7 separate regions of the Homo sapiens genome follow, and regions 1, 2, 3, 5, 6 and 7 are each linked to region 4. Evidence: promoter capture Hi-C in 16 types of primary human blood cells and fetal thymus (Javierre and others, 2016). All regions are on one chromosome and are shown on one strand. The core of a region is centred on a gene start or on the middle of the fragment in contact, and the rest is flanking DNA. Distances in the headings are between cores, read along the strand shown. Region 1 overlaps AHCTF1 (AT-hook containing transcription factor 1). Region 2 overlaps AHCTF1 (AT-hook containing transcription factor 1). Region 3 overlaps AHCTF1 (AT-hook containing transcription factor 1). Region 4 holds the start of ZNF669 (zinc finger protein 669). Region 5 overlaps ZNF496 (zinc finger protein 496). Region 6 overlaps ZNF496 (zinc finger protein 496). Region 7 overlaps AHCTF1 (AT-hook containing transcription factor 1).

Evidence for each region. Contacts are between HindIII fragments. The CHiCAGO score rates a contact against its expected background, and 5 or more counts as called.
Region 1: a fragment that was not itself captured here is called in contact with the fragment with the promoter of ZNF669 in region 4 in 3 of 17 cell types (neutrophils, monocytes and M2 macrophages); the score reaches 8.9 in neutrophils.
Region 2: a fragment that was not itself captured here is called in contact with the fragment with the promoter of ZNF669 in region 4 in 11 of 17 cell types (fetal thymus, total B cells, naive CD8 T cells and 8 more); the score reaches 12.0 in fetal thymus.
Region 3: a contact is called between a fragment that was not itself captured here and the fragment with the promoter of ZNF669 in region 4, in 2 of 17 cell types (neutrophils and monocytes). The highest score is 6.1, in neutrophils.
Region 5: a contact is called between a fragment that was not itself captured here and the fragment with the promoter of ZNF669 in region 4, in 3 of 17 cell types (naive CD8 T cells, total CD4 T cells and M2 macrophages). The highest score is 5.9, in naive CD8 T cells.
Region 6: a fragment that was not itself captured here is called in contact with the fragment with the promoter of ZNF669 in region 4 in 1 of 17 cell types (fetal thymus); the score reaches 6.3 in fetal thymus.
Region 7: a fragment that was not itself captured here is called in contact with the fragment with the promoter of ZNF669 in region 4 in 1 of 17 cell types (neutrophils); the score reaches 5.9 in neutrophils.

The regions. Positions count from the first base shown.
Region 1 is chr1:246,905,439-246,908,534 of GRCh38, forward strand. AHCTF1 (AT-hook containing transcription factor 1) reads right to left here. Exons shown (of 36, transcript NM_001323342.2): 5 at 2,113-2,320; 6 at 103-219. Among named protein-coding and RNA genes, the nearest start is that of AHCTF1, 25 kb to the right of the region's middle. The HindIII fragment of the contact is 7,654 bases long and covers 1-3,096 here.
Region 2 is chr1:246,926,481-246,929,986 of GRCh38, forward strand. The region is part of intron 1 of AHCTF1 (AT-hook containing transcription factor 1); the gene reads right to left. Among named protein-coding and RNA genes, the nearest start is that of AHCTF1, 3.7 kb to the right of the region's middle. The HindIII fragment of the contact is 4,526 bases long and covers 1-3,506 here.
Region 3 is chr1:246,864,107-246,867,608 of GRCh38, forward strand. AHCTF1 (AT-hook containing transcription factor 1) reads right to left here. Exons shown (of 36, transcript NM_001323342.2): 26 at 3,138-3,245; 27 at 1-10. Among named protein-coding and RNA genes, the nearest start is that of AHCTF1, 66 kb to the right of the region's middle. The HindIII fragment of the contact is 1,818 bases long and covers 969-2,786 here.
Region 4 is chr1:247,102,772-247,105,876 of GRCh38, forward strand. It overlaps ZNF669 (zinc finger protein 669), which reads right to left and starts at 1,585. Exons shown (of 4, transcript NM_001142572.2): 1 at 1,426-1,585. The coding sequence starts at 1,428. FLJ39095 (a long non-coding RNA gene) reads left to right here and starts at 1,740. Exons shown (of 3, transcript NR_147502.1): 1 at 1,740-2,869. RefSeq lists an enhancer at 1,536-1,830. The HindIII fragment of the contact is 5,762 bases long and covers 1-3,105 here.
Region 5 is chr1:247,301,495-247,304,820 of GRCh38, forward strand. All of the region lies in intron 9 of ZNF496 (zinc finger protein 496), which reads right to left. Among named protein-coding and RNA genes, the nearest start is that of ZNF496, 29 kb to the right of the region's middle. The HindIII fragment of the contact is 5,941 bases long and covers 1-3,326 here.
Region 6 is chr1:247,316,949-247,320,284 of GRCh38, forward strand. All of the region lies in intron 6 of ZNF496 (zinc finger protein 496), which reads right to left. Among named protein-coding and RNA genes, the nearest start is that of ZNF496, 13 kb to the right of the region's middle. The HindIII fragment of the contact is 951 bases long and covers 1,399-2,349 here.
Region 7 is chr1:246,887,347-246,890,666 of GRCh38, forward strand. It overlaps AHCTF1 (AT-hook containing transcription factor 1), which reads right to left. Exons shown (of 36, transcript NM_001323342.2): 17 at 2,620-2,713; 18 at 1,048-1,171; 19 at 831-887; 20 at 1-11. Among named protein-coding and RNA genes, the nearest start is that of AHCTF1, 43 kb to the right of the region's middle. The HindIII fragment of the contact is 4,757 bases long and covers 1-3,320 here.

The sequences.
Region 1 (3,096 bases), core at 529-3,028, 200 kb before region 4:
GTGAGCCGAAATCACGCCACTGCACTCCAGCCTGGACAACAGAGCGAGACTCTGTCTCCAAAAAAACAAAACAAAACAAAACAAAGTTTGTATGAGACCTACCTATCTTGTGTAGACTGAACAGCCCACAAGTAACAGCAATTCCGAGGATCATTCTCAGGTTCTTGAAAAGTGACAGCATATACAGGAACTTGTCCACTTTCCAATTGTATGTAATATCTGAAACAAATTAGTATATTTCATATTTTTAAGTTATTTTTTAGAAAGGAAAAAGGTACATCATGTAAGAACTTGGGTTAGGCAACCACTGTTCCTACACTTCCCCAGAATAAGTGATCTGTGGGCCATGGCCAAGTCATCTTATCTGCAAAAATACACACGGCACAAGACATCAAGACTATGGTCATGGCACCCATCCCCCAGAGACAGAACTGGGAAGACTCAGATGCAGTCAAGCGGATGCATTTATGTGTGCGTGTAACTGGTCCTAAGAGTCATATTCAATGCCCAAGAGGTAGAACTGGGGAGTGTTAGAATTACTCAAGTGGATGCATTCATGTCTGTGTAAACTGGTCCTAAGAGTCATATTTGATGTACACTCCTACATACTGCTCAACCATAAAAGATGCCCTACAAAGAGACGAGATACTGCCACGAGACTTTTCAGCTGTTTGGGTTTAGCATCAGTTTCCCCACTACTACAACAGAAGATGAGTTAGAAACTGAAGAGTTCCCATAAACTGCTAAAAAAGCAAAAATTGACCAAGAGATGATAGTGTTAGAGAAAGCACTGCTGTAGAAGCCAGGTACTGCAGGTATTTCTTTAGGAGCAAATTCAAAGACGAGCTGACAAACTGGCAGCCGGGCGTGGTAGCTCACACCTGTAATCCCAGCACTTTGGGAGACTGAGGCAGGTGGATCACAAGGTCAGGAGTTCGAGACCAGTCTGACCAACAAGGTGAAAATCCGTCTCTAAAAAAAAAAAATACAAAAACTAGCTGGGTTCAGTGGTGCACACATGTAATCCCAGCTACTTGGGAGGCTGAGGCAGGAGAATCACTTGAACTTGGGAAGTGGAGGTTGCAGTGAGCCAAGATCGTGCCACTGCACTCCAGCCTGGGCAACAGAGTGAGACCCCACCCCCCAAAAAAATAGAAAAAAAAGAGCTGATAAAAGGATAACAGCAAAGAGAGTTGAGATACACTTCCTATAAGATAAATTACTCAATAAAATATACCAGTATGCCTCAGGAAAAATGGAGAAACAAATAAATTGACAACTTAAGGGCCAAATAGGCATCTATTTAACGCTTAACACAAATTAACTTAGCTACAAAGTATCAATATAATTATATTTTGGGGACTTTTTGACAGCAGAAAAAATTTAAAACACAAGTATTTTGTAACTTTGATTTTTAAAAATCCTTTTTTTTCCCTCTCAACTGAGAATTCTTTATTAAGCTGTTACTTTACACAGATGATGATTAGGAAGGTACTTCTGAAAGAACTCATATTATACAAACACAGCCATGTGTCACTTAACAAAAGGGGATCTGTTCTGAGAAATGCTCGTCAGGGATTCAGTCATTGTGCAAACATCATACAGTCTAGTAACACAAACCTAGATGAGATAGCCTACTATATACCTAGGCTAGATGGTATAGCCTGTTGCTCTTAGTCTACTAACCTGTACAGCATGTTACTGTATGGAATACTGCAGGCAACTATAACACAATGGTATCTTAAACATTAAAAAGGTACAATCAAAATACAGTAAAATTTTATGAGACCCCTTTCTTACATAAGGACTGTTGTTGACCAAAACGTTGTAAAGTTACAAAGTCATGCTTTACTAGCATGTTAAACACATGACTGTAATGCCTTTTAAATAAACACTGAAAAAAAATAAAGCTAAATTCATGTGCTAAGTCACTCCTTTATGGTATTCACATTGATTTAATGCCATGAAAAATTAGTCATCTCAATCATTCATTCAATCATTAATCTACCCACCCTTTTCTCACTATGCTAACTTTCAAATATTAGTAAATGAGTACAAGCTATATGCAAAAAAACTACCTATAATCAAATAAGGGAAAAAAGTTATACTTACTCTCTTTTCATGCTTTTCATGTTCCAAAGTGCTAGATAGCCATCAGAAAAACCTACAGCAAGCTGATTTGTCCTGCTTATGTAACTAAGAGTTGAAACAGCTGTTCCTGTTGGACTTACTAACTGGAAACACAGATGGCGCCCTTGTCTCATTACACTTTCTCTAATGTGTGGTACTTCAGCTGGGATACCAGTTAGAACTTCAAGATCTAAAACCACAAATTAGACAAATGAAGTTAAAAAACTAGAAACAGCATTAAAAGCAAATATGTCATCCATTATTCAAGCTGCAAATGAAGTCAACTGAGTTAAATGAAGTTAATTGAAATTAAAAGATTAGTGATAACAAAAAAGTATGTTAAACTAGAAAATTGCCATCCTTATCTATTTAAATGCCACAATTTAAAAAACACATTCAATTATATAATATTTAAAAATTCTCTCAGTACATCTCAAATATTATCTAAGATAGAATTTTTTTAGGGTTAACAACCATAAATAAAACTGATTTATTTCTTTATTGAAATTTAGAACTACTACCTAAATACCTTCCTTGGAGCAATGGCTGATTCCGGGTCAGGGGGAAGAAAATACATAAAATGAGCCTGGTACATCTTATGCCAATAATCTAGGAAGCTATCACAGATGAAAGGGAATGTATCAGACAACATGAAGGGGCTCTCATTACCAATGACAGGACATTTTGGGCATCAAAAACAATAAAATTAATGAAACACATTAAATATGCCAAACCTGAAAAATTCACAGGGATACAAAAAAAAAAAAAAAAGAGGGGTGGGGCAAGGGGGAAGCCTACCCTCCCCACCTACAAAAGACCTTATATTGAACAATTGGAGTAACTAGGTATCACCTGCTTACTCTGAAAATTAGTACTTAAGAAACACTAAACATTTATCCTGCCTGTTCTGTAGACATTGTGTTTCAGAGTGACCAGAAAGCCCTAATTAATGAGAAAATTATTCTT
Region 2 (3,506 bases), core at 913-3,412, 180 kb before region 4:
GCCTTTGAATCTATAGGGCAAAATTGGTTTTAAGACTTTTCCAATTTAAGCACACTACAGAGAACATCGAAACACTCTATTATTAGAAATAGGGGCCAGGCGCGGTGGCTCACACCTGTCATCCCAGCACTTCGGAAAGCTGAGGTGGGTGGATCACCTGAGGTCAGGAGTTCAAGACCAGCCTCACTAACAGGGTGAAATCCCGTCTCTACTAAATACAGAAAACTAACCAGGTGTGGTGGCGCATGCCTATAATCCCAGCTACTTTGGGAGGCTGAGGCAGGAGAATCACTTGAACCCGGGAGGCGGAGATTGCAGTCAGCCGACACTGCACCATTGCACTCCAGCCTGGGCAACAAGAGCGAAACCCCGTTTCAAAACAAACAAGTCTCAAAACAAACAAAAGTGTATGGCCGGGCCGCGGTGGCACACGCCTGTAATCCCAGCACTTTGGGAGGCTAAGGCGGGCGGATCACGAGGTCAGGAGATCGAGACCATCCTGGCTAACAAGGTGAAATCCCGTCTCTACTAAAAATACAGAAACAAAATTAGCAGGGCGTGGTGACGGGAACCTGTAGTCCCAGGTACCCGGGAGGCTGAGGAGGGAGAATGGCGTGAACCCGGGAGGCGGAGCTTGCAGTGAGCCAAGATCGTGCCACTGCACTCCAGCCTGGGCGACAGAGCGAGACTCTGTCTCAAAAAAAAAAAAAGAAAGAAATAGGCCAGGCACTGTGGCTCACACCTGTCATCTCAGCACTTTGGGAGGCCAAGGCGGGAGAATGGCTGAGGTCAGGAGTTGGTTAGAGACCAGTCTGGCCAACATGGTGAAACCCCGTCTCTACTAAAAACAAGAAATGTAGCAGCCAGCCACGGCTGCATACGCTTGTCATCCCGACTACTTGGGAAGCTGAGGCATGGGAATCGCTTGAACCGGGGAGGTGGAGGTAGCTGTGAGCTGAGATGGTGCCACTACACTCCAGCCTCAGCAACACAGCCTGACTGTCTCAAAAAGAAAAACTATATTATTAGAAAGAATATCTCATATAAAGGTATATGAAAACACAAACACACATGAAACACCTACGTTCAGTACTGTACAAAATTAAACAGAATCCCAGCCTTTTATGACATGCCAGCACTGGCAACCTATAAAAAGTAATTTACTAAGTTTCAATTCCTTTCCAAAGGCTAGATAGGCAGAGCAGGAACGTTCTACTGGCTTTGAATGAAGATACTGTTCATGGCCGGGCGCGGTAGCTCAAGCCTGTAATCCCAGTACTTTGGGAGGCCGAGGCTGGCGGATCACAAGGTCAAGAGACCCAGACCATCCTGGCCAACATGGTGAAACCCTGTCTCTACTAAAAATACAAAAATTAGCTGGGCGCGGTAGCGCGCTGTAGTCCCAGCTACTTGGGAGGCTGAGGCAGGAGAATCGCTTGAACCTGGGAGGCAGAGGTTGCAATAAGCCAAGATCACGCCACTGCACTCCAGCCTGGCGACAGAGCAAGACTCCGCCACCAAAAAATTAATTAATTAATTAAATTAAATACTGTTCGGCCGGGTGCGGTGGCTCACGCCTGTAATCCCAAGGCAGGTGGATCACGAGGTCAGGAGATCGAGACCATCCTGGCTAACACGGTGAAACCCCATCTCTACTAAAAATACAAAAAAAATTAGCCGGGCGTGGTGGTGGGCACCTGTAGTCCCAGCTACTGGGGAGGCTGAGGCAGGAGAATGGCATGAACCCGGGAGGCGGACCTGGCAGTGAGCCGACATCGCGCCACTGCACTGTAGCCTGGGCGACAGAGCGAGACTCCGTCTCAAAAAAAAAAAAAAAAAAAAATTACTTCTGCTTGCCTGTCTTCTCCACTACACTATGAATTCCTAAAAGGCAAAAATCACCAAATCTTATTCCTGGGCATTCGACAAGGTCACAGTGCCTTTGGACTAACAGGTCCTAAATGTAATAAATTAGGATAACAGGATACTGTATAGCAGGATATTATTAGGATACTAGCAGAGACAAGAAATAGGCATGTTAAACAATAAAATCAATTTTTTAAAACTCAAGATTGGGCCCAATTATTTTTAAGTATACACTGGTTCAGTATTAAACAAAACAAAATTCTTAAAATTACTAGGCCAGATACTAAAAACAGAATACTATAAATCAGTTTTCTGTGTGAAATACACAAATTCCTGCAGTAACTGAATTCCACCACAGAAAATGGAACTCTAATCTAGTTCAACAATTATATTGCAACATGTACCAAGCAAACATTTCTATAAACCACTTTGTATGCAATGGTACTTTTTTTCTTTTTGACTAATAAAAAGACGAATTGTCATTTAAATGTAAACTACCAGTGGACCCAGAAACTTCAAGCCTTTCAGAAATTTCTTACCAACTTAATTCAAACATTTTAAAATCACAAACTACTTTTAAAACACCGTGTTAGTAAAGGAATGCAAGGTCAAGAAGATAACCTTCTTCCTGACTTTAAGGAGTTTACAATCTAGAAAAGGAGATATATAGTCAATTATCAGAGTATCAGACACAAAGAATAAATGCTACTACAATAGAGGTACATATGCTGTGAGATCCCAGTAAAAAAGTGGGATAAGGGGAAATAAAAGAGTACAGTGGGCTGGGTGCGGTGGTTCACGCCTGTAATCCCAGCACTTTGGTTGGCCGAGGTGGGCAGATCGTCTGAGCTCAGGAGTTCGAGATCACCCTGGGCAACATGGTGAAACCCCGTCTCTACTAAAATACAAAAAATTAGCCGAGTGTGGCGGCGCGTTCCTGTAGTCCCAGCTACTCGGGAGGCTGAGGCACAAGAATCGCTTGAGCCCTGGAGGCGAAGGTTGCAGTGAGCCAAGATCACGCCATTGCACTCTAGCTTGGGCTACAAAGTGAGACTCCGTCTCAAAAAAATAAAAATAAAAATAAAAATACAGTGAAAACATTGGATTTAGAAGGAGGACCTGAAATTTGAGTATTTAAAAAAGGAAAGATGGCACTCCAGGATGAAGGACATGAGCAAAGAAACATCAGAGTGGAAACATCTCTTCCACAGAATGAGTCCAGGATTGATGACGATTCTGGAATAGCAAAAGCATAAAATTTGTTAACATATGAGGATAGACAGTAGCATATACTTATTGTAGAGACCTTTGAGCTAACCGAGGGAAGTTACACTTCATTCTGGGAAGAAAGAAAAGTCCCTGAAAATATTAAAGGTAGGCGTGAAAGACACAACGTTTTGCTTCCTCTTAAAATATATCTGTACCAGCCGGGCGCGGTGGCTCACGCCTGTAATCCCAGCACTCTGGGAGGCCAAGGCGGGCGGATCACGAGGTCAGAAGTTCAAGACCAGCCTGGCCAATATGGTGAAACCCCGTCTCTACTAAAAATACAAAAATTAGCCGGGTGTGGTGGCGTGCGCCTGTAATCCCAGCTACTCAGGAGGCTGAGGCAGGAGAATCGCTTGAACCTGGGAGACGGA
Region 3 (3,502 bases), core at 628-3,127, 240 kb before region 4:
ATCTAGCAGTCTGTAATCAGAATGCGCATTTATTGAGTTATACTGAAAAAACAAAAGAATTTAGTATCCCATTTAATCAGACCTCTATATTCACTGGTAACTATGATAGCCACATGCAAATACAGTCAAGTATATTAATGTAATCCAAAGTGCTACCATGCATTCAAAAAGTCAGAAAATTATTCATCGCAAAACAGAATTAAGAACTGCACATAGCAACTGATTTTTAAAAAGAGTTTGCGTCGTCCTCCTTCCCTTTACCTATATTTACTGAGCTCTTACTATGTGCCTGGCATTTATTTTCAAATGAAGATGAACTGCCAATGATTTAAAATACTAAAGAAAACAGGACAAGGCTTCCCTGGCAATCTATTTACTAAAATTCATTAACATGCAAAATATCCATTCACCTACATGTAATATATATAATGAATATTGGTTCATTTTGCCTTTATGGTTCTGATTACAATAAAGACTAGACTGACTTGGGAGGCCGAGGCGGGTGGATCATGAGGTCAGGAGATCGAGACCATCCTGGCTAACAAGGTGAAACCCCGTCTCTACTAAAAATACAAAAAAAAAAATTAGCCGGGCGCGGTGGCGGGCGCCTGTAGTCCCAGCTACTCGGGAGGCTGAGGCAGGAGAATGGCGTGAACCCGGGAAGCGGAGCTTGCAGTGAGCCGAGATTGCGCCACTGCAGTCCGCAGTCCGACCTGGGCGACAGAGCGAGACTCCGTCTCAAAAAAAAAAAAAAAAAAAAAAAAAAAAAAAAAAAAAAAAAAAGACTAGACTGACAACCCACACCCACCACCACAACCAAAAGTTAATTTTTTCAAGTCAATGAGTTTGGTGACAAAGTACAACTTTAAGATTCTACTACAAGGTTTTCCGTAATGTCCTAGTCCCAATGATAAAACTGATCCCACTGATTACTTGTACTGAGCATGTATAATCCAAGTAAGTTTTAAAGCTTAATTTACAGATAAATTTAAACTCAAAAGTCGGGTTTTCAGGTGGTAATTTTTGGTGGACCATTTGCACAGGTCACTCTCTTCTCGATTTCCTAATAAACAGTCTATCTTATGGTTGTATTTCCTAGTGGTAAAAACAATCCCTTTTTATTTCCCCCAAATGCCAAAGTGGCTCACCTGAGAATAACCAGAAAAGGAGAGTATGCTTTGGAGCCCAGAAATAAAAACTTGTAGTTGCAGTACCTTCCTTGTCATTCTATCTATCAAATGAGAGTTTTGCTATTAGGAGCGGTAGACCAACACAGGTGATAATGGGGAAATATTTCAATGTCTTCCCACTTGTTACTCTGTATCAAACACAGCTTTTAGATTTCCACCAAACCAAGAATATCCAATCAGGCTGCTAGACATTTCTTTTCTTCTAGATTCTCTTCTTTCTCTATCTTGTTTGCATTTAAATTCTGTACTTGGATTCGATCCAAACTTGGAAAACAGTTTGCTCACTTTTATACTGAGCTATCCCAAAGGAACACTGTTAAATGTTTTGCATTGTGTTAATATTTATGTTTAAGGCACCTATTTATGAATGAATGCTTCTCAAAAGCAAGGACTGTGCAACAAAAGCTACCTACCAAGTCAAAGCAAAACTTCTGTATCATCAAGACTTAATAGTTTAAAGGTTCTGAGAAATCTTTTTAAGGTATTTTCTAAATGAAATGTTAAATATTGCATTAGGTCTCAGGTCTTCAACCCTGAGACCAAATATTCTTTCAGAACTAACCTTTTCTGATTTCATTACTATCTGCAAGGTTATTTTCAAAAATCTATAGTGGTATTTAAAAAATTGATTTATGTAACTTTTTACTTGTTAGAGCTAATTTTTTTTTACCATAATCCATATAAAGAATGCATCCTATATCACATAAAAATAAAACATCAATTACATAAATTAGCACTTCAGCCTTACTATATGATGTACCCACGGATGTTATCTATTCTGCCTTATTTCATTGCAGGCTATACTGTCTACCCAGTAATGCAAACTCAGCATGAAAAACACAGAAGGTAAATATTCAAAACTCAACTGGCTCTCTTACATCTGAGTTAACACTGGCTTTAAAAAATGCTCATAATACTTCTTTAAGGGCCTCAGGCCATTAATCAAAGGCCTTTCAACTTCTATTATTGCTCCCCGCAACCTCAGAGCCATTAAATTACAAAAAGACCAAGAAAAGGGGACTTGCAGAAAAAAAAATCCGAACTATTGGTAGAAAAAAAGAATGTCGGTAATAACGACTTTCATTTAAAATATCTTCTTTCCATTTAAAATACCATCTTACCAGAGTAAATAAAGGGAAACAACCTAACTAAATTTAGTCCAAAAAAAGAAAAATCCTTTCAAGGTTTAACATATGTCCATTAAACTACACTCTGTACTTCTGGCCTCAGTTGTTTGTATGACCTTATCTCAAGTATCTTTTTCTTAGCATCAAAAATTCAGAGTCTTGTAATGATTATTTATAATCATTATAAATACTTTAAACAATGTAATTTTGTCTTTGATAAAACAATCAAAAATTTCCAAAGATCCTGGGCATATTAAGGACAAAGAATCAATACATGAAGAGACATACTCTGTTCTCTGTGGTACATAATTATGAACACTTTTCAACTAACCAATGCTCGTAAGTAAATACTTGCAATCACAATTTCATCTTGGATACAAAACTTCAACTTAACACCACAGGTAAGATGTAAACGTGCTGCATCTGAAGCAACACAAGACATTTTAGTAGGCACTGTTCAACAGAAGAAAGCTTCAATGAGCTACCCAAGATTAATCTGTAATTAAGTATAAAAACAACCCTCATTTAGAGGTCTACTAACAAGCAGGTAACAAGGAAAGTAAGTTAATAGTTTGCTCATGAGACAAACTTCACTCCTGTCCACTAAGCAGTCTGAAATTATTGAACAAAAATTTTAAGTATACTACTACCTGATGTAAAATTTCCTAAAATTACTGCTGCCCAAAGTATAATAAAAAGCAAACATTAAAATATTCATTTAATAATTTAAAAGTCTATAAAATGTTAAAGATAATTAAAAATTACAATTGTAACTATCATCTAACATTGTGTCTCTAAGAATGATTTAATAAACTCTTACCTAGAAATTTTTTGTGATGCTTTTGAAATTGGTGTTCCAAAAAATGCCTCAGGCAGCTCTGGAGCTGGGAGCGAATACACTATAGGAGATGGTTCTTCTATTTTAGAACTATGAAAATAAAAATTTAACTTCTGATGTATCACAAGGAGCACTGATAACAAGTGGATGAGATGGGAGAACAGAGGGTTTTCATTCGTTTTACTTTGTACAGTTCTGCATTGCTTACAAATAATAATGAACATTTCACTTTTAAAGGTTTTTAAAAATTCTTCTCAGAAACATAGCCAACATAAAGAGTTTTTCTTTTTTACATACACTAATAAACTTAGGCAAAGAGAGTGGATTGTTGATGAACGCTGTTGATG
Region 4 (3,105 bases), core at 335-2,834:
CATGTGATTACACCAAGAGAGAATAGGCTTATTAAATTTAATTGAGTAGTAAATAAAACCAATAATTGATATTTAACAATTTACTAATACAATTTTTAAATTTCTATTGCACAATGTCAAGGCAGAATGGAATAAGAGGAAATATGGCACATGTTTTTTAAAATGACATTAATGTCACCACTTCCAGATGCTATTCCTGTGAAATCACATAAATTCCCAAATCAGGCTTTTTTAGGCAAGAAAAACTAGTTTTTCATACCTAGTAAAAATGACAAATGTCTAATGATTTTCAGTCATCTAAAAAAAGAGTTATGTCTTGCCTAACATACTTTTAAGATTTTCAACCAAAAATATTCAGGACAGCACAGTATTAGCAGAGAGATGAGCAAGCAGACCAAGGGCTGAGGACACAACACCCTGTAAAGTTTTCACAGGGGGACATCAACCTAAAGACATTTTGGTAATATGCACACTTAGGAAAGATGAAGAGAGGCACAAAGATTTTTTTACAGTAGAGTGTCAGATGGTTTATTCTCCGCTTTCCTCTCATGTAAAATGTTTGTAAACAGAAAAATATTTTGGCCGAGCGCGGTGGCTCACGCCTGTAATCTCAGCGCTTTAGGAGGCCGAGACGGGCGGATCACTTAAGGTCAGGAGTTCGAGACCAACCTAGCCAACATGGCGAAACCCTGTCTCTACCAAAAATACAAAAATTAGCTGGGCGTGGTGGCGGGCGCCTGTAATCCCAACTACTCGGGAGGCTGAGGCAGGAGAATCGCTTGAACCCGGGAGTCAGAGGTTGCAATGAGTGAGACTGCATCATTGCACTCCAGCCTGGCGACAGGGCGAGATTCCGTCTCCAAAAAAAAAAAAAAAAAAAAAAAAAAAGAATATGGTTTGCTTCCTCATTAACCTTATCAAAGCCTCTCATTTACGCCCCTTCTGTGGACCCCAAACCACAAACCATGACTGCGGTACCTGGTTTATGAATCGCCGTTTGCTCAAACACACGGTTTAACGTTTTAACAAAGCCTCGGCTTAATTTTAGGGGAAGAAAGGTGGGACTGGAAGCCCCATGAACCACAGCTCCTCCCATGCTGGAACCCCGCACACCGAGACACCGAGTCGGGGCTCTCCCGCATCACCCTCCCGTGGTCACCACACTACCTGGATAGGGGAGGCGAGGGGTTCCCGACAGGGCTCCGGCCGGCGGAAGTGGCGCCCGCAGGTACAGACAGGATGCAGGGGTTCCGCTGCCCGCCCCGCCCGGCCCGGCCCTGAACAGAAGAGGACTGAGCCCCGGCTACGCCACGGCGACTCGGTCCGCAGGTTCCGGAGCCGATGGCGTGGAGGCCCGAGTCGCGCCACAGCAGGTTTCAACCAGCCCTCTTCTCCACTTCGGGAAGCCAGGCGCAGTCCACTCACCATTCCTCGGCTTCCCGGGTGTCCTGGCGTCAGCTAGGGATGTCCCAATACTCGCAGGTCACAGGGTGGCAGAGGCTGCTGCAGAGCCACCTGGGCCTCCCAGAGCCAAGAACTAGCAGCGGAGACTAACAGGAAGAGCCGGCTCCGGCGAAGGAGAGACAAAGCAACCGCCAGGCAGATCCCGGAAGCCGCCCTCTCCTTTCCGGCGGCGCGCCTGATTGAACGGTCCCCACCCCAGCGCCCCTGATTGGATGGGGCTTCAGGCCCCGCCCCTCAGGCCCTGAGTGACAGGAGATTGCGATCTCACGTGAGGCTGGATGAGGTCAGAATGACCGCTTTTGGCCTAGCGGTTTGTAGGCGGTGCGTCCTTCCTGCGCTGGGATCCGACCATGCAAGAAGGACATTCACATTTAACCTGTATACAAGTTATAGCTATTTGTGCCTTTTATATATATATATATATATAAAATTGGAAGCAATATAATGACAGTTCTGTAACTGCCCAGGGAGTTCACCTTGCCCGCTACCTAGACAGAGCCGATTTCTCAAGACAGGGGAATAGCAATAGAGAAAGAGTAATTCACGCAGTGTCCTCTGTGCGGGAGACCGGAGTTTTTTTATTTTATTTTATTTTTTTGAAACAGAATCTTGCTCTGTCTCCCAGGCTGGAGTGCAGGCTTGGAGTTTTATGATTATTCAAATCAGTCTCCCTGAGCATTTGGGGTAAGAGTATTTAGAACGTTTATTTTGCCAAGGTTGGGGATGCATATGCATGACACAGCCTCAGGATGTCCTTGATGACATGTGCCCAAGGTGGTCAGAGCACAGCTTGGTTTTGTTGGAGAGAAATGCTCGGTGCCGCAAAGTGAAACCAGCACTCAAGCGAAAGTTTTCTCAGCAACGCAATTTACTTCTGCAGAAGCGTGCTGCTCGCATCAATCACGATCGCAAGAGCACACTGAACAGAGGAAAGCAGGGGTTTTTATTCCTAACGCAGTCCCTACCTCTGGCATGGGCTGGGGTCAGACCGCACGATCTAAACTGACCCGGTTGGCTATTTGTGAATATTTTCCCAAATAAGGAAGGGGGAAGGGGGATGTGAGTTACAATGGTGGGACTTGCGGTTTCCAAGGGAGAAATGGGTGCAGAGCAGGTAACCAAGGGAACAGATGTGAGTTATTGATTAGAACTGACGGAAGGTTGTTTACAGTAACTAAGGGCAAGGAGGCATGGAGAACAAGAAAGTTGAGTTCGAAAACAAAAAAACAAGAAAGTTAACATGCCAAACCTTGGAAGAGAAACTGACTGTATCTGACAGCTTTATACATTTTAGGGAAACAGGAGACATCAATCAACATATGTAAGATGAACACTGGTTTGATCCGGGACAACCTGAAGCAAAAGCGGGTCAACTCGAAGCCAGGAGGGGGCTTCCAGGTCACAGGTAGGTGAGAGACAAACGGTTGCATTCTTTTGAGTTTCTGATTAGCCTTTCCAAAGGAGGCAATAAGATATGCATTCATCTCAGTGAGCAGGGGATGACTCTGAATAGAATGGGAGGCAGGTTTGCCCTAAGCAGTTCCCAGATTGACTTTCCCCTTTAGCTTAGTGATCTGGGGGGCTCAAAACATTTTCCTTTCCAATTTCCCCCTTTTCTTTTAAAAATATTTTGGAGAAAGC
Region 5 (3,326 bases), core at 1-2,500, 200 kb after region 4:
GCACCTTGCTCTCCCTCTTCCCAGCCATTTTCCCTTATCTCCACCCCCAACCCTTTTGTTCTCTACCCACGGAGACCACCCCATCCCCCCAAGCTCTAGGAGTCTGTATTTATCTGGGTAAAGCCTTGACCATTTACAGATCATGCACTTAACAAGGCATGGGGGAAAGCTCTATCAGGATAGTGAAAGGACTTGAGAGAGGAAGACTCTACAACCTACACATATCATGTGCTGGGCACTTGCATGCTCCAGGGACTGTGCTAGACTTGACATGCACATTCCTATTTGCTCCTGGACGCAACCCGATGACCTATTGGTTGCCATGTTTACACATAAACTAAGGTGATCTGTGCCAGGAAGGAGGGCTGAAATGCTACTCAGCCTTGCTAGGCTGCTCAACAGTCCCAGACTGCCCAGAGTCCTGGGTCCCCCACAGCTCCCCGGCTCCCAGTAGCACCGCATTTCTGAGGCCACAGGTGGTGATGGATAAAGCTGCTCTGGACTTCCTGCATCCTGAGTCTGTGATGTTGGGAAGGTGGAACCACGGGGCGGGGCTGGGTGGACAGTGCAGAGCCCGGCCTGAGGTCCCGGCTTATGGAGCAGAGCCCACCATACAGGTGGCCTGTTTCCTCACTGCTGTGAAATGTAGAACTCAAATCTAGAACTTGGGGGGAGTGAACCAGGCCCTCCCAGATAAGAGTAGGAACATGGTTAGTCTGGGCTTCATGACTGTGGGGAGGAGAGCCCTGGCTAGTCAGAGCAGCTCAGGACAGGAGAAGTTGGACAAACAGAAGCAGGGCAGGAAGACACAGAGGCTATGGAGAGCAGAGAGATAAAGGGCAATGGTGGAAGCGGAGGGGGCATTTGTCCCTCAGTCACAAGGGGGTCGGGGGAACATGAGTCTGGGAGTGGGTACTGAGTCTGCCAAGAACCCACGTAGTATAGGAGGGAAATCATCAGATGAAGACAGAGATTGTGTTTGTGTGTGTGCATGTGTTTTTAATTTTTTGTACAGATGGGGTCACATTATGTTGCCCAGGCTGGTCTCAAACTCCTGGGCTCAAGCGAGCCACCCATCTCAGGTGATCCACCTGCCTCAGCCTCCCAAAGTGCTGGGATTACAGGTGTGAGCCACTGCGCCCGCCGAGAGGCTATGTTTGACGCTTATCTCGACTCTTGGTTTTCGAGCTGCAGGAACCTCGTTCCAGCCAGACAGCTTCTCTGAGCTTGGGTCATCTCGTCTACAAGGTGAGAATGACAGTGGCAGCCCGTTGCTCTAAGCTGCTGGTGGGGCAGGTGAGGTCATGTGTATGATGTACTTTGTGGACCTCATGGGGTGGAGACAAGAGCAAGGTGTAACTTTTACCAGGCTGCCGATGACAAGGTACTTGATCAGCAGTTGACTTCTGTTAATGGACTTGGGTGGAAGAAGAAAACAAAGTGACAAGGTGGACCGCTAAGATCTCTTACTTGTTAACTGGGCGAGGAGATGGAATTATGAGAGCAGACAGTGCATGTTATGGGCGAAATTGTGTCCCCCTGAAAATTTACATGATGAAGCCCTAACCCATAGAGCCTCAGAATGTGATTACTTGGAGATAGGGTCTTTCAAGAAGTAATTAAGTCAAAATGAAGTCAGATGGTGGGGCCAATCCAAAATCACTGGTCTTCTAAGAGGAGGAGACTGGAGGCAGACTTCAACAGAGGGAAGGACCCTGTGAGGACACAGCAAGATGGGAGCCGTCTCCAAGACGAGAAAGGCCTTGGAAGACACCAGCTCTGCTGAAGCCTTGATTCTGGACTTGTTGCTTCTGGAATTGTAAGAAAGTAAGTTTCTGTTGTTTAAGTCACCCAGCCTGTGGTACCTTGTTATGGTAGCCACAGTAGACTAACATAGACTTTGGCACCAGGAAGTAGGGTGCAGCTAAAACAAAGACCAAAAACTGTCGAAGTGATTTTAGAACTAGGTCATGGGGAGAGGCCAGGAGAGTTCTGAAGTGCATGTTTAAAAAGCCTTGAGGAAGTGGCTGGTAGAAATACGGACGTTATAGGAAATTGGAGAAAAGGAGATCCTCCAATTATAAAGTGGCAAAGAATTTGGCCAAACCATATTCAACTGTTCTGTGGAAACAGAAATTGTAAGTAAGGAACTCGGATACTGAGCTGAGGAGGTATCGAAGCAAAGTGTCAAAGGCAAAGACTAGTTTTTTGCCGCTTATAGTGAAACGTGAGATGAGAGAGATAAACTGAAGAAGGAATTGTTGTAGCAAAAAGGAACCATGACTTCAAGATTTGGAAAATTCTGTCTATCCATACGGCAAAAAATAAGAAAGCGTGCACTGGAGAGACACCAAGAGTGTGGCTGGCTCATCATTTGTTAAAGAGATTCTGGGTATGATTCACGGATCCAATCAACCATCTCAACAGAAGCCAGGAACAGAGATGAGGTTATCCAGGAAGGTCTATGGAGGACACCCTCGTCTGACGGCCTGCAACCCTGTGGACTGCATGGAGGGCAGGGTTTCTGAGTATTATATACCAGCAGAAACACTGCCAGCTGGAACTGAAAGGAAAAGAGATGGGATGAAATAAAAGAAGGCTAGGACTTCTGGGATTCTACAAACTGGCCGATAGATCTATCTGGCTATGAATATGTACTATCCTTCAAGAAAAGGGAAGAATGACTCCAAAGGTGGCTCAGAGGTTACAGGACTGCCACTGTCATCATGGGACCAGAGAGTACAGGCTCAGGAGGTGAAGTCATTTCCTTCTGAGTTCCAAAGAGCAGGGCCAGTAGCCTGCTGGGCCTGGAGAACAGAGAACTGAGCCAGAGGTTATTGCTGAGCCTTAAAATCCCATGGAAATGACCTGCTAGATTTTTTTTTTTTTTTTTTGAGATGGGGTTTCGCTCTTGCTGCCCAGGCTGGAGTGCAATGGCATGATCTTGGCTCACTGCAACCTCTGCCTCCTGGGTTCAAGCAATTCTCCTGCCTCAGCCTCCTGAGTAGCTGGGATTACAGGTGTGTGCCACCACGTCTGGCTAATTTTTGTATTTTTAGTAGAGAGAGGGTTTCCCCATTTTTGCCAGTGCAGTCTCGAACTACTGACCTCAGGTGATCCGCCTGCCTCGGCCTCCCAAAGTGCTGGGATTATAGGCACGAGCCACACCACACCTAGCCCTGACCTGCTAGATTTAAGACTTGCTTGGGACCCATTACCCTTTCTTCTCTTGGATTTCTCTATTTTGGAATGAGAATGGTCTATGCTATGCTTTTCTCACAGTTGTATTTTGGAAGCAAAAAACATCTGGTTTCACAGTTCATAGC
Region 6 (3,336 bases), core at 624-3,123, 210 kb after region 4:
CCAGAAGGAAGTTCACTAGACCATGCAGAATCTTCTCACATGACTGGGGATGAGTGGTATCTTTTCACTTCCTACATTTTGTTAATTTTTCACGAGAAGGGATGGGCAAGATAGATAAACATGTCTATTTAAGATTAAATCTTCAGAGGAGATTTTTCTAATGCTTCCCAACTAAGTAGAATGAAAACCCTGGACATTGCATATAAAATGAGCACAGGAGACTCTGAAAGGTGGAGAGAGGGTGGCAGAATGGCCAGGGACCTTGGAACAGTATGTGCTAAGTTCACTGGTTTTTCTTTCTACCACATATTCCCCTGACTTGAAGCCGAAGGAGCCAGCTACCAAGAAATACCCATGGGCACAGACCAAAAAAAGCTCCAACAAAAGCCACAGGACCTGGACAGGGGCAGCCCAGCCAAACAGGTAATAACTGCTCTACTCCACTTAATACCACATAAGAAAACTGTGGCCCCTTCTTACCAACACCAGCAGAGAATGACTGGGGAGCCTAGACTTCCACCCTCACCAGGTGCAATGAGGTGCCCTAACACCCCTGCTGGGGTGGTCTCAGAGAAGGCCAAATGCGGAGCTGGGACCTCCATCCCTGCTAGCTAAGAACAAGCCCCCCCCCCGCCACCAGTGGAGACCATGTAGGGAGCTGGAACTCCACTCCCACTCGGGTGTATGAGGAGCATCCCCACTTTGATGCCCGCGGAGATCCAGGAGGAAACCTGACGTTCTCTCACCAGGTAATAACAAGTGGTGGCCCACCTGCCCTTCTCTTGCTGGAGCTATGTCAAAAACAACACTGCACAACCAAACAAAACCAGCCACACCGAAGTTAAGGTCCAGAGTCTCATCATATAAAAATATGCAGGCAGAAAATCACTCACTATACCAAGATCTGAAACTGAATGAATAAAGATAACCACCAACAGATGCCAACCCTCAGGTGACAGATACGTTAGAACTATCTGACAAAGAAGCTGTCATAAAATGCTTCAATGAACAATTATAAGCACACTCCAAACAAACGAAAAAATAGAAAGTGTCTGTAAAGACACAGAAAGTCTCAGCAAAGAAACTGAAGATACAGAAAATAACTAACTGGAAATGTGAACAGTACAAACCACAATATGAAATAAGAAGCTCAGTGAATAGGCTCAGCTGAGGAGGGGACAGAAGAAAGACTCAGTCAACTTGAAGACGGAAAAATAAAGTTATTCCATCTGAACAACAGAGAGAATACAGGCTGAAAAAAAATGAACAGTCTCAGGTACCTTTATAAATTACACAGTTTCTAACAAGAGATCTAAAACCTGTATCCTTAGCAGTCTGGAGAGGAGAAAGAGAGAGGGACTAAAAAAGTACTAGAAAAATCTAGCTTAAGAATTCCCAAGCTTGGAAAGAGACATAAACCTAGAAATGTAAGAAGCTGAGCAAACTCTAAACAGGTTAATCTAAAGAAATCCATAACAAGACACAGCATAATTTAACTTCTGAAAACTGAAGGCAAAGGAAGAAAAAAATCTTAAAGGTAGCCAGAGTAAAATAATACCTTCCTTACAGGGAAAAAGTTTTTGAATGACAGCAGATTTCTCATCAAAAGCCATGGAGGCCAGAAGGAAGTAACATAATATTTTTCAAGTGCTGAAAGAAAACTGTCAAGTGTGAATCTTTCATCTGGTGAAAACATCCTTCAGGAATGATGGGGAAATGAAGACCTACTAAGATGAGGAAAAAATATGTAAGTCTATCACCAGCAGATCTATCTTAAAAGAATGGCTAAAGAAACACTCTAAACAAAAAGCAGGAACCTTGGAACATAAGAAGAAAGAAAACAGTAAGCCACAATATGGGTAATAAATAGGTTTTCTTTTTCCTTTTGAGTTTTCTGAATAATGTTTGACAGTTGAAGCACAAATTACAACACTCTATGATGCGGTTCTAAATGTATGTAGAGGAAATATTTAAACAACTGCATTATAATGGGGAAGAAGGATGAGGGTATGTAAAAGGAGGTATATTATATTTCTTTCTTTTTCTTTTCTGATGGGGTCTCACTCTGTCACCCAGGCTGGAGTGCAGTGATGCAATCACAGCTTACTATGCAGCCTCAACCCCCTGGGCTCAGGCAATCCTTCTGCCTCAGCTTCCCAAGTAGCTGGCACTATAGGAGCACACCACCATTCCCAGCTAATTTTTTTAGAATTATTATTTGTAGAGACAAGGTTTCGCTATGTTGCCCAGGCTGGTCTCAAACTCCTGGGCTCAAGCAATCCTCCCACCTTGGCCTCTCAAAGTGCTGGGATTATAGGCACAAGCCACGGTGCCCGAACAAAGGAAATAAGCTTCTACACTTCACTCAAACTGATAAAATGATACTCAGTAGATAAGTTATGTATATATAATGTAATACTTAGAATAACCACTAAAAAAGCTATACAAAAATATACATACACTCAACACCACACTAGGTAAATCGAAATGGAATTCTACATGTTCAAGTAACACACAGAAAAATAGGAAAAAGGAAACAGAGAAACAGAAACAGAGCCAGAAAAACAGAAAGACAAACTTAAGCCCTAACATGTCGGTAATGACATTAAATACAAATGGTCTACATACATCAATCAAAACACAGTAACTGGCAGAGTAGATTAGAAAACATTATCCAAATATATACTATCTAGGCCGGGTGCAGTGGCTCACACCGGTAATCCCAGCACTTTTGGAGGACGAAGCAGGTGGATCACGTGAGGTCAGAAGTTCAAGACCAGCCTGGCCAACATGGTGAAACCCTGTCTCTACTAAAAATACAAAAATGAGCCGGGCCTGGTGGTGCGCGCCTGTAGTCTCAGCTACTCGGGAAGCTGAGGCAAGAGAACTGCTTGAACCCAGGAGATGGGGGCTCCAGTGAGCTGAGATCGCGCCACTGCACTCCAGCCTGGGTGACAGAGTGAGACTCCGCCTCAAACAAAATAAAACAACACATATATACTATCTAAAAGTAACTTACTTCAGATATAATAATATAAGCAGGTTGACTGTAAAAGGATGGAATAAATATATTATGCAATTATTAATCAAAAGAAAGAAGAAAAGCTATATTAACATCAGATAAGAGTACTTTCTTACAAAACTTACCAACTTTTGTACTTACCAACGATTGCATACCTGGGCATTTATCCCAGAGAAATGAAGACTGATGTGTATATAAAAACCTGCACACAAATATTTACAGCAGCTTTATACAATAATGACCCCAAAACAACCCGGATAGTCCTCAACCAGTGAATGGTTAAACGAACTGTTGGACTTCCATGTGATGGAATA
Region 7 (3,320 bases), core at 597-3,096, 220 kb before region 4:
AAATAAATGGTCTTTTAAAAAGCGGATTAAGGACAATAAAATACAACAACAAAAACCTCCTACGTATATATTTACAATAGGTAGCAACAAAATGTAGCATTAAAAGAGACTTGAAATGCCTGTTTTTAGTGTTTAGAAAGCCATCATGGAGAGTCAGCAATGAGAAGATAGTTTTAGTAAATGTGGGTACAACCAGTCCCGCACCAACTTCATTCATTCTCAGTATTTTATTATCAGCACCACAAAGGAGATAAAGCGTATTTTTATGAAGTCAGTAGCTCAGTAAATACAAGAAACAAAGATATACGCAAATTTCTAAAGATCTAGCAAAAGATGGCAGCTTAATCAAACATCATCTAGCTTATAAATTATAAATGGAATTATACATTTTTAGACTAAGTAACTAACATTAGCACAAAAATATTATCACAAAGACTATAGGACTCAAATAATGCCTAAGGTAGTATCACGCTAACTTATAATGTATTCATTTCCAGCACAGAGGTTAATGCCATTGATAGTGACCACTTGGTGGTAGTATTTTAGAGCAACTGTTGTTAACTTTTTGAGTGTCTTGGACACATTTAAGTGTCTGATAAAAGCCAAGTACCCTATACCTAGAAAAACAAATAAAAAACAAAATTTTTCATATAGTTTTAGGTTGATCACAGGCCATCTGAGCCCAAACAACAGATCCTGGGTTAACACCTCTTCTTAAGAAAACAAAACCAAAATTCAACCTTGCAATTAGATATGTCAGGTTTCCACTACTCTTGAAATTTTATAATTTTAGTAATACATGAAACACTGGATAAAACTTAAAAGGATACAATAGAGTGTTTGGCTGCTTCAGTAACGCCGTCTAATAGGTACATATCAAGTACTGCCTATAAAACAAAGGGATAAAACCTTCAGTGGATCTTATACAGTCATTCATTCATTCATGCTTCTTGTTTTCCCAAGTTTGTGCCAGACACACAGCTAAGCATGTCTCCTCCCTCCCCAGCTTTGTAGACTCTAAATGATAGCACATTACTGCAAACCTACATGCAGACTAGCAGGAGGATATTTTCCTGTGCCTCCTTCATCTCGTTTCCACAACTTCTCAATTCGCTCTCCTAACTGAGAAACCAGTCCATCAATCATCAAGCAATCGGGATTCCACTTCCCTCTGCAATCAGGGAAAAATTAAGACTTATTTAATATCACTGTTAATTAATATCAAAGCAACCAGCATCAAAATATTAAAAGTAATAATCCCAACTATCAAAGAGAGAAGAGGCTGGGCATGGTGGCTTATGTCTGTAATCCCAGTGATTTGGGAGGCCAAGGCAGGAGGATCAACTCAAGGTCAGGAGTTCGAGACCAGCCTGGGCAATACAGCAAGACCCCAGTTCTAAAGAAAATATAAAAACTAGCTGGGCATGGTGGTGTGCACCTGTAGTCCTAGCCACTCAGGAGGATAAGGAAGGAGGATCGTTGGAGCCCAGGAGTTTAAAGTGAGCTATACACATGCCACTGCACTGCAGCCTGGGCAACAGAGACCCTGTCTCTAAAAACAGAGAGAGAGGAGAGAATTGGGAATTTGACCCTAGTTAGCATGATGAGAACTACAGACATCAAGGAGAGTTAGTCGGATAAGCCCTTAATTTGCCTCAAGTTCAGTCATCAACAAGCCAGTCAGTCAAGGTGAGGTCCCCATGTGGTCCATCCAGCCAGTGACCATTCTATTTTTCACCATATTAAGCAAACTACCATAAAGCCCAGCGTAGTGAAAATAATGAAGTTCAAAGACAGAGAGTTAAAGTTTCTGTTTCATCACTTGGGTTAGTCTTTTATCCTCAGTGATTCCTTCACTCGAATATCTATTGCTGAGTGCCTATGATGCAACGTGCAGGTATGGTCCCTATTTCCTTTTCTTTTCTCTTCTTTTTTCCCCTGATTTCCTTTTCTAATTGTGAATAGCGGCAGCACTTACTACTCTTTGCGGTTGTCCAATGAGCCAGGCACTGCACTAGATGTCCTGCACATACTATTTTATTTAGCTTTATACTGACTTTATAACTTATATAACAAGCAGGATTAGAAAGCATAACAAAGCTGCCAAGGATATACACTTAGGAAATAACAGATCTAGAATTTTAAAATATGCCTAGTCAATCTCCCAAGCTAATGTTCACTCTCCTAAATTGGTCATTCTAAAGCACTGGTTCCCACAATTGCCATGCATCAGAATTACAGCCGGCACAGATTTTAAAGTACTGATTCCCAGGTGATTCAGGTGTAAGAAACCTGGAATCAACGTTTGTGGCACTGCTCTAAATGTTATATGCTTTGTAATTTTGTCACTGCAACTCGAGGAAGACGACTATTTCCAGAAGTGTGGTCAAGACTCTCAACACCACTTTCTTTGTCTATTACCTTTACTTCATTTCAAAGGAACTAAGTAGGTTATTCGTGTACTTTTTTAAAAAAGAGAAATAAAATAGTAATGGTAATAGCAAATTCTGATACTTAACTGAGAATTCTACCCATTTAATCACTTTGTAAAACGATGAACACTATTCTGAGAAACTTTGACTTCTTACAGATGTAATTTCTAAAATTGTTTTACTATACCTTGATAAACGCTCAAACTTCTGTCGACGACTGGTGTAGTAGTTCTGAATTACAGGGTAGTTGTAGCATAACCTTGACAACTGCACAGAATCATCTAGATTTTTAAGAGTTGGAAAAAAAGCTGGTAATAATCCCCAAATATCTCAACAATACATATTAATATTTTACTGTAATTTAATATTTACAGCAACCCCTGGTTAACCCACAGGGTGGGTATATTTAGGTAATAAAAGATTACTACACATCTTTTTATTTACAGAGGCACAAGTGAGAAAATGATCTGTCATGAAAGTCTAACTACATGGATGGGGGCTTAAAATCCTGGAAACTGTTCTAAATAACTTTACTCCTTAGGCACAAATAATAATTTGAAAGCAAGAAATGTTCACTACAAATCAAAATCTAAGAGAATTATGAAAAAATAAGATCAACAATTATGTACAGTGGCAGAGGCACTTCTAAATAAAATCTAATGGCTTCCTGGAAATGCAAGAAGCTGAAGGCTTTGCAAGTTATATTCTAAACAAATATAGCACAAGTCAAATACCAAAAATTATCTTATTGTTGGTACTGGCATAAATCACTAGATAAAAGGGGGTATTTAATTGAAGAAATATTAGTCAGTAACCATATTAAAAGGACCATTACCAGGAAACAGGAAAACTGAGTTATAGAAACTATAGTTCTATGGATCTAAATAA